Linked DNA regions of Homo sapiens: regions 1 and 3 are each linked to region 2. Evidence: promoter capture Hi-C in 16 types of primary human blood cells and fetal thymus (Javierre and others, 2016). All regions are on one chromosome and are shown on one strand. The core of a region is centred on a gene start or on the middle of the fragment in contact, and the rest is flanking DNA. Distances in the headings are between cores, read along the strand shown.

Region 1 (3,166 bases), core at 450-2,949, 1.6 Mb before region 2:
ACCATGACCATTGTGGTCATCTGCTCAGTCCTAGCTTCATGTCAAAGAGGTCCTCAAACAACAGGTTTCTGTGAACATGACTCAAAGGTTAAACATTTTAGTTACATACATAATTGTCAGAAAGGCTCTAACGGTCAAATTCTTGAGGAAAATGATGACTGTAGAGCAGCCATCAGCCAGGGTGGACAACCTAGCCACCTTGATGAAGATCTAACAAGGAGATGAGCCTTCAAAATGTAACGAAGGTGGTAACTCCTTCAGCCTTTCTACACACCTTAGTGAACAACATGTAATTGCCAGAGAAAGGAACAACACAAAGGAGAAGGACACGAGGAGGTGTTTGATAGGGACACATGTCCTTATGAACACAATGGAAGTATCTCTGGAAATGAATACAATGACAGTGAATGTGGACTGTCCGTTAGACCGAAATCTCATTTCATCAGTCACCAGAGGACTCATACTGGAGAGAGCCCTTATACCTGTAATGACTGTGGAAAATCCCTCTCTAAGAATTACAACCTGATTGTACATCAAAAAATCCACACAGGAGAGAAATCCTATAAATGCAAGAAGTGGGAAAGCCTTCAGTGCTGGCTCCACCTTTACCAAGCATGAGAAAACCCACATAGGAAAGAAGCCCTGTGAAAGGAATTGGTATGGGAAGACCTTCAGCTGCCACTCTTCCCTTGTTTTGCATTTCAGAAGTCATACTGTGGAAAAACTATTCGAATGTAATGAATGTGAAAAATCCTTTTCTGATGTCTCCAACCTTATTGTCCATCTGAGAATTCACATGTGAGGGGAGCCCTATGTATGTACTGGGTGTAGAAAGGCCTTCATTGATCACACATAACTTATTAAACATGGGAGAATTCACATTGGAAAGAGACCCTATATGTGTATGGAGTGTGAAAAATTCTCCAACCACAACAGTCAGCTCTTTTGCATCAAAAAAATCATTCTGGAAAGAAATCTCATGAGTTAAACAATGTGAAAAAATCTTTCACTGAGATTATGTACCTCATCAGGCACAAGAGGATTCATACTGGTGAGAAGGTCTGTGGCTGTAACCAGTGTCAAACTTTTCAGGAACATCGCGGGCCTCATCTGGCACCAGAGGACTCATACTGGTGAGAAGCCCTACGAGTGTAATCGGTGTGGCAAAGCCTTCAGGGACAGCTCCTGTCTGACCAAGCACAAGAAGGTACATGCTCAGGCGACCTTGTGCCAGTGTGTCTAGTGTGGGAAAGTTTTCCCAAGTATCTGTGCTCTCGCTAGAAACCAGAGTTGACACATTGGACTGAGACCTATGGGGATTCAGTGAGCATCTGTGGCAGTGACTGATCTGATTTTCTTTGCCTCCTCTTTGTCAGAGACTTCATGTTGAAGAGTTTATGTTGTTTGAAAGTAACAAATATGTTTTTCCATCTATAAATGGAAGAAAAAATCCTGGATGACAGCACATGTGTTTACCGCATGGTGCACTCAATATTTTATTTTATTTTTGAGACAGAGTTTCACTCTTGTCACCCAGGCTGCAGTGCAGTAGTGTGATCTCAGCTCCCTGCAGCCTCTGCCTCTTGGGTTCAAGCGATTCTCCTTCCTCAAACTCCTGAGCAAGTAGCTGGGATTACAGGTACCCACCATCACACTAATTGTTTTGTATTTTTTTTAGTAGAGATAGGGTTTCACCATGTTGGTCAGGCTGGTCTTGAACTCCTGACCTGAAGTGATCTGCCCACCTTGGCCTCCCAAAAGTGATGAGATTACAGGCATGAGCCACCATGCCCGGCCTGTGCTGAATATTTTAAACCCACTGTTGAGACTTCCTCAGAATAAAGATTCCTTTCAAAATATGGCTGCTTGTTGACAAGAGCTGTGATGAAGATGTACAGGGAGATGAATGTTGTTCTCACACCTGCTAACACAACATGTATTCTGCAGCCCATCATAGATCAGGAGTAATTTTGACTTTCCAGTCTCATTATTCAAGAACAGATGTCTTGGCCAGGCACGGTGGCTCACGCCTGTAATCCCAGCACTTTGGGAGGCCAAGGTGGGCAGATCACGAGGTCAGGATTTCGAGACAAGCCTGACCAACATGCTGAAACCTCATCTCTACTAAAAATACAAAAAAAAATTAGCCAGGCGTGATGGTGCACACCTGTAATCCCAGCTACTCAGGAGACTGAGGCAGGAGAATTGCCTGAAGCTGGGAGGCAGAGGTTGCAGTGAGCAGAGATCGAGCCACTGCACTGCAGCCTGGGAAACAGAAGGAGGCTCCATTTCAAAAAAAAACAAAAAAACAAAAAAAACAGATGTCTTTTTTTCTTTCTTTCTTTTTTTTTTTTTTTTTTTTTTTTTGAGACGGAGTCTCGCTCTGTCGCCCAGGCTGGAGTGCAGTGGCGGGATCTCGGCTCACTGCAAGCTCCGCCTCCCGGGTTCACGCCATTCTCCTGCCTCAGCCTCCCAAGTAGCTGGGACTACAGGCGCCCGCCACTACGCCCGGCTAATTTTTTTTGTATTTTTAGTAGAGACGGGGTTTCACCGTTTTAGCCGGGATGGTCTCGATCTCCTGACCTCGTGATCCGCCCGCCTCGGCCTCCCAAAGTGCTGGGATTACAGGCGTGAGCCACCGCGCCCAGCCAGATGTCTTTTTTTCTTTTGAGACATGGTCTCATTCTGTTGCCCAGGTTGGAGTGCAGTGCTGCAACCATGGCTCGCTGCAGCCTCGACCTCTAGGCTCAAGTTGTCCTCTCACCTTAGCCTCCTACATAGCTGGAACTACCAGCATGCACCACCACGCCTGGCTAATTTTTTTTATGTTTTGTAGAGACGGCATCTCACCATATTGCTCAAGCTGGTCTTGAACTCCTGTGCCGAAGTGATCCTCTTGCCTCATCCTGACAAAGTGCTAGTATTACAGGTGTGAGCCATTGTGCCTGGCCTAGAATGCTCTTAATGGCATCTAGCATAGTGAATCATTTCCAGAAGGTTTTTAATTTACTTTCCCTGGATCCATCCAAGGAATCATTACTATCTATGGCAGCTATAGCCTTACAAAATACATACCTTTTTTTTTCTTTTTTGATAAGGATTCTCACTCTGTTGCCTCGGCTAGAGTGCAGTGGCGCGATCTCAGCTCACTGCAGCCTCTGCCACC
Region 2 (3,242 bases), core at 611-3,110:
AAACTGGGTCTCAACACACAGGCGGGTACACACACACAGAGTCAAAAACACTGGCTTTCCTTGGCCGGTCGCGGTGGCTCACGCCTGTAATCCCAGCACTTTGGGAGGCCGAGGCGGGCGGATCACGAGGTCAAGAGCCCACATGGTGAAACCCCGAATCTACTAAAAATACAAAAAACTTAGCCGGGCGTGGTGGCGGGCGCCTGTAGTCCCAGCTACTAGGGAGGATGAGGCAGAAGAATGGCTTGAACCTGGAGGCGGAGGTTGCAGTGAGCCGAGATCGCGCCACTGCACTCCAGCCTGGGCGACAGAGCGAGACTCCGTCCCAAATCAATCAATCAATCAATCAATCACTGGCTTCCCACACACACACAACACTCATCCACAAAAACTGGCTACGGCTCGAAACCTTAGTCGGATAGTATTTTAGGCTTTATGGGCCACAAGATCTCTGCTGCAAGTACTGAACCCTGCCATTGTGCAAAAGCAGTCATAGAATAGACGTAAATATACACAAGTATACATATTCAAAATGTGTGGTTCCCCACAGAGACGTACACACCGCAAAAACTGGGCTCTAGAGTCAACAGTAAATAGTTCAGGCTTTGTGGGGCCACACAGTACCTGTTCCCACCTACTCAACTCTGCCCTTCCGCAGAAGTGGATGCAGAAGCTAAACAAATGTCCAGAACATACACACATATTCAAAATCAGTGCCCCCCGCCACGTACAAAACCACAAAAATCGCCTCAGAGACACACGTATAAGAAAACACAAAGGTTCGTCCTCACACATGTTCAGGGTAACACAATGTGGGTCTCACCTACACAAACGCGCGATCAAAACCCGGGACCCGCACGCCCAGATGACCGGGACGAGGCCATACTTCACATCTTCTCTCACAGACTCACAATTACGCAACGGTCACCTCAAACGACTTTATGGCGGACACTCCCGGACCTTCCGCTGTCCGCCCCTCCTCGTCCCTTCTCCCCGCCGGGGTGAGCCTCATCCACCCAGTCTCAACCCCGACGCAGTCAGTCTCACTGCCAGCCCGCCGGCTACGCAGGCGCAACACCGCATGGAACAGCCCCCAGGGCGTGCAGGGGCCGTTGGGAAATGTAGTCCGAGCGCCACGCAAAGGACTGTGGGCCTCTTCGCAAAACGTGCAGGTGAGTCCCCACTGTTGGCCAAAAGAAACATCCCTCCGCTGCTCTCCCGGGTCAGTTCATCTCCGACCCGGACAGAGCAGAACCAGCGCAGCCCAAGCCTTCTTCACCTCACGTTCTGGGTGGGACTTTCCACAGCCTCGCTGCACCCCGGTGGATTCTGGAGGTCGCAGGATGACTGCGTAGTGCGCACGCGCGGGTGGGCGGTGTCCGCCTCCGCGGGTGAGGCCGGCTCCAAACCTCGTGAATGTGGGGGCGAAGGACGCTGGCTGGCTGGAGGCAATAAGCCCTCACACGGGAACGTGTGGTTGTGGGAGCGGGGAAGGCGGCGAATTGGGGAGGTTGGGTTTGGTTAAAGAGCTCGAGGAAGGGCCTCAGTGTCCACACGTGATCTCCTGAGAGGATGAAAAGCAGGGCCAGGCGCCAGTCCCCTAGGAGACCGGTGTGCGTGCCAGCCTCGGGGGTGTGCGCAGGCGCGGGACCTCGCGCGTCCGCCTGCACCAATCGTGCGAACGCGCTTGTGCGTGTGGCGCTGAGGGGTCGGGGCCTCAGGCCGGGGCTGGTGGTACTGTCCCCGAGAGGCGGGTGAGCGCACGCCGCGTGGCCTTGTTTGGGGGCGGGGCCACGCGCCCGCATGCGTGGTGCGTGTGTGAAGGGGGGTGCAGCGCGCGGTCCCGGGGTCCCGGAGGGGAGTGCGCAGGCGCTGAGTCCCTGCTCGGCTGTCTCGGTGGTCGCCGCCGGGGTCTGAGCCCGGGAAGACCGAGGTAAGGGGGCTGGCGAGAGTGTGGGTGTGTCTGAGGGCGTGGGCGGCGCGCCCGCCACTGCGTGGACGTTCCTGCCAAGGCGCGCGTGGGTTTGCGCATCCACGATGGCGTGGGCGTCTGCGCGGGTGCTTGCGTGGGCGGTGGGCTCGCGCCTGCGTGGGTTCTCGGCCCGCCACGGCGTGGGGTTTGCGCCCTTCGCTGCTGTGGTTCTCGGGGCTTGTGCGCCCAAGTGTGAAGTTGGCGCCGCGTGTGAGGCGAGCCGTGTGTGCCTGTGTGTGAGGGAGCTATGTCGGGACCGCGGATGTGTATCGCTGCGTGACCCACGCGAAGGAAACAATGGAGCCATTGGGAAGCCGGGAGTGGGTGTGTGACGCTGACTGTGAAGATTTGTGTTTCTGGAGTGTGTGCGTGTGTCAGTGTCAGGCTGATGTGGGCGTTTATTGTAGCCTTGGGTTACTGTGTGACTTGCCTGGGCGTCTGTCTGCCACTTAGCGTCAGTGGCTTTGCGGTTATGAGTGTGTGACTGTGCCTTTCTGGTGTATATCTCACTGTAACCATGGAAATGGAGGCCCACAGGGGAAGAATTCTTAGCAGCTCTAAGATGTGATGGGCTGCCCTGGAAATCTGTGGAACTGTTTAATTGTGCATGACTTTCCTCCTTGGTAAAATAGCATATTAATAGCACCTGCCTGGGTGTTATTGGGAAGATTAAATGGGATGACGTAGCTGAAACACCCTGCACAGAGCTTGTCACATACTAATCACCGTGTTTAGGTGTTGGTTATGGTGCTGGTGGTCGTTTTTCTTTGACCCTATACAGAGGCAGAGGTAGTGGTGAATACTGGAGGACTTTGCATCTCTGAGCTTCGGACTGGGCTATCTTTGTCCACATACCAGGGCATCTGACCATCTCCAGTTGAGCAGTGGTGCGCTGCCCCCGCCAACCACCTGCGTCGTCAGTTTTCTGCATGTGTACATTTGAGTGGAGGACAGAGCCCTCCACTGACGCTAAGTATGGTTGTGTCCCCTTCCTACCAAGGTAGCTTGGAAAAATAAGAGCATGGACTGTGGCGCCCCGCTGTCTGGTGTTGACTCCTGGTTTCACCACTGGCTGGCTGTGTGACTGAGAGAGCTTACTTAAGTCCACCACTCCTCGGTTCACTTGTAAAACAGTAGTAATAACAGAACCAACCTCAGGTTTATGGTGAGCATAAGTAGAACTTGGCACAAGGAAGTGCCACATCAATGATCATCGTTTTATTATTAGCATAATAACCGCAGGCGTCCCACACCTGGAGAATAAAATCCA
Region 3 (3,262 bases), core at 601-3,100, 1.6 Mb before region 2:
TATATATTTTTTGTATTTTTAGTAGAGACAGGATTTCACCATGTTGACCAGGCTGGTCTCAAACTGCTGACCTCAAATGATCCATCCATCTTGGCTTCCCAAAGTGCTGGGATTACAGGCATGAGCCACCACACCCAGCTTACTAGTTGTGTTTCTTTAATTGGATTGAATTTGTGTTACCTGCCATGGGGCTAAACCAAAAAGGAATGAATTGGCTCAGGTAACTGAGAAGTCCAGAGAGGCTGTGCGCAGTGGCTCATGCCTGTAATCCCAGCATTTGGGAGGCTGAGACAAGAGGATCGCTTGGGCCCAGGAGTTTGAGACCAGCCTGGGCAACATAGCAAGACCTCATCTCTAAAAAAATTTAAAAGTTAACCAGGCATGGTGGCACATGCCTGTAGTCCCACCTACTCAGGAGGCTGAGGTGGGACAGATAGATCATTTGAGCCCAGGAGGTTGAAGCTACAGCCTTCGTGACAAAGCAAAACCCTACCTCAAAAAAAAAAAAAAAAAAAAAAAAAAAAAAGTCCAGAGGACTTGGGGTTTCCCTTCTTCTTTTTTTTTTTTTTTTTTGAGGCGGAGTTTCGCTCTTGTTGCCCAGGCTGGAGTGCAATTGTGCGAACTCGGCTCACTTCAACCTCTGCCTTCCGGTTTCAAGAGATTCTCCTGCCTCAGCCTCCCTAGTAGCTGGGAGTACAGGCACGTGCCACCATGCCCGGCTAATTTTGTGTTTTTAGTAGAGACGGGGTTTCTCCATGTTGGCCAGGCTGGTCTTGAACTCTCGACCTCAGGCAATCTGCCTGCCTTGGCCTCACAAAGTGCTGGGATTACAGGCTTGAGCCACTGCGCCCAGCCTGGGGTTTCCCTTCTTGGACCATTTTGTTTCTACATAACACTTACTGTGTAATGTGCCCATAACATCCTAATTTCTCTATTTTCCATTTCCCCACCAAAATATAAGCTCCTGAGACCACGAGTTTCATCAGTTTAGTTGCCAGAGTCTGGAATTGTGCCTGAGCTATAGTTGGTGCTTGGAAAATACTTGCTGCCTGAAAGAATCTCCCTCTCACATACAGTATAAGAGGAGACTCAGGAGGGACAGTGACTACCACACGTCAGTCCTACCCAGTGCTTCCACAAAACTTCCAACGGCCCTGGCTGTGTTAGTCTGTTTACACGGCTATAAAGGAATACCTGAGGATGGGTAATTTACAAAGAAAAGAGATTTATTTGGCTCACGGTTCTGCAGGCTGTACAGGAAGCATAGTGCTGGCATCTGCACTATGGGGAGGCCTCAGGAAGCTTCCAATCATGGCGGAAGGCAAAGGGGAGCTGGTGCATCATATAGTGAGAGAGAAAACAAGAGAGAGGGGAGGAAGTGCCAGGCTCCTTTAAATAACCATCTCTTGGGTGAACTCATAAAGGGAGAACTCACTCATTACCATGAGGACAGCACTAAGCCATTCATGTGGGATCCACCCCATAGCCCACATACCTCACACTAGGCCCCACCTCCAACACTGGGGATCACATTTCAACATGAGATTTGGAGGGGACAAATATCCAAACCATCGCACCAGCTTTCCTGACTTTTTTTCAGAAACACAATGGGAAGCCAAAGGATACTTAATTCTCTACTTTCTACGATTCTTCCACTCAAGATGCATTTTTGGCTGCCAGTCACCAGAAATCCAACTCAAAATTGTATACACTTTAGGATATTATTTACTTTTTTTTTTTTTAGAAACATGGTCTGGAGTGCAGTGGTGAAACCATACCTCACTGCAGCCTCAAATACCTGGGTTCAAGTGATAGTCCTGCCTTAGCCTACTGCGTAGCTGGGAGTACAGGCACACGCTACCATGACTGGCTAATTTTTTATCTGTTGTATAGATGGGGTCTCACTATGTTGCCCAGGCTGGTCTTGAACTCCTGGGTTCGAGCAAGCCTCCCAAAGTGCTGGGATTACAGGCATGAGCCACCACGCCCAGCTGAGGTTATTATTTATTTGCTGTGAAAGACCAGGATGCAAGGTCCAGGGTGGGGCCCCTGCTTGAATTGTAGATGAGTTTGGGCTTTGCTGTCTTCTCTGAGTTGACTCTGTACAGGATGGTCCTCTCTGTGCTTGCAGGTGGTAGGCAGCATACTTCTCCCTTTGCATCCAGAAAGAGACAGAACCTTTCCTTGCTAAAGAACCAGACCTTCCTCTCAGTCTCATGGCTGCACACCCAGAAACTGTGCTCACTGTGTTAGGCCGTTCTTGTGTTACTATCAAGAAATGCCTGAGATTGAGTAATTTATAAAAAAGAGAGGTTTAACAGGCTCATAGTTCTGCAGGCTGTACAGGAAGCAGGGCACTGGCATCTGCTCAGCTTCTGGGGAGGCCTCAGGAAGCTTTTACTCATGGTGGAAGGGGAAGTAGGAGCAGACATATCACATGGCCAGAGGAGGAGCAAGAGGCAGTGTGGAGTGGAGCGGCTGCCTGCACAGTTAAAAAAACAGACCTCAGGCTGGGTGCAGTGACTTGCTCCTGTAATCCCAGCACTTTGGGAGACCAAGGCGGGTGGATCACCTGAGGTCAGGAGTTTGAGACCAGCCTGGCCAACATGGTGAAACCTTGTCTCTACTAAAAATACAAAAATTAGCCAGGCACGGTGGCACACACCTGTAATCACAGCTACTTGGGAGGCTGAGGCAGGAGAATTACTTGAGCCCAGGAGGTGGAGGCTGCAGTGAGCCTTGATCATGCCATTGCACTCCGGCCTGGGCAACAGAGCTAGACTCTGTCTCAAAAAAAAAAAAAAGGCACATTCAAGGATGACTTTATGACTTTGGTCGGCTCCACCATGTGTGGGGCCTCAGCTGGGAACTTGAAGGCTGAGGTACCTTGAAAGCTGGGAGGCTGGAATCATCTGAAGACTGTTCTGTCACAGGCCTGATGAGGCTGGGGAGATTCAGACTAGGAGTGAACTGACACCCTGAGCAGAGCCTGTGTGGCTTCATCCTCACAGCATGGTGGCCTTGGGCCAGTGGGTTTCTCAAGTGGTGTCTCAGGGCTCCAAGCACAAGTGTTCCAGCAAAAAAAGACAGACGCTGTATGGCCTTTTCTGAACTAGCCTCAGAACTCTCCCTCATTCTTATTTCACCTGCATTCACCTGTTTTCCCACTTGATCTTCTACTTGTGTGCCAATAACTGAGGCGTAGTAAGCAAGGTCCTCTAGACTCAGGAGGGTGTAACCCCCACAGTGCCCTTCCACTGGC

The links. Contacts are between HindIII fragments. The CHiCAGO score rates a contact against its expected background, and 5 or more counts as called.
Region 1: a contact is called between a fragment that was not itself captured here and the fragment with the promoter of ZNF667 in region 2, in 1 of 17 cell types (erythroblasts). The highest score is 6.9, in erythroblasts.
Region 3: a contact is called between a fragment that was not itself captured here and the fragment with the promoter of ZNF667 in region 2, in 2 of 17 cell types (activated CD4 T cells and naive CD8 T cells). The highest score is 6.4, in activated CD4 T cells.

What each region holds. Positions count from the first base shown.
Region 1 is chr19:58,105,905-58,109,070 of GRCh38, reverse strand. It overlaps a transcript of ZSCAN18 not described here. Among named protein-coding and RNA genes, the nearest start is that of ZSCAN18, 9.3 kb to the right of the region's middle. The HindIII fragment of the contact is 4,764 bases long and covers 1-3,166 here.
Region 2 is chr19:56,475,963-56,479,204 of GRCh38, reverse strand. It overlaps ZNF667 (zinc finger protein 667), which reads left to right and starts at 1,860. Exons shown (of 7, transcript NM_001321356.2): 1 at 1,860-1,933. ZNF667-AS1 (ZNF667 antisense RNA 1) reads right to left here and starts at 1,331. Exons shown (of 2, transcript NR_036521.1): 1 at 824-1,331. The HindIII fragment of the contact is 7,484 bases long and covers 1-3,242 here.
Region 3 is chr19:58,071,962-58,075,223 of GRCh38, reverse strand. No RefSeq gene overlaps it. Among named protein-coding and RNA genes, the nearest start is that of ZNF135, 14 kb to the right of the region's middle. The HindIII fragment of the contact is 1,092 bases long and covers 1,305-2,396 here.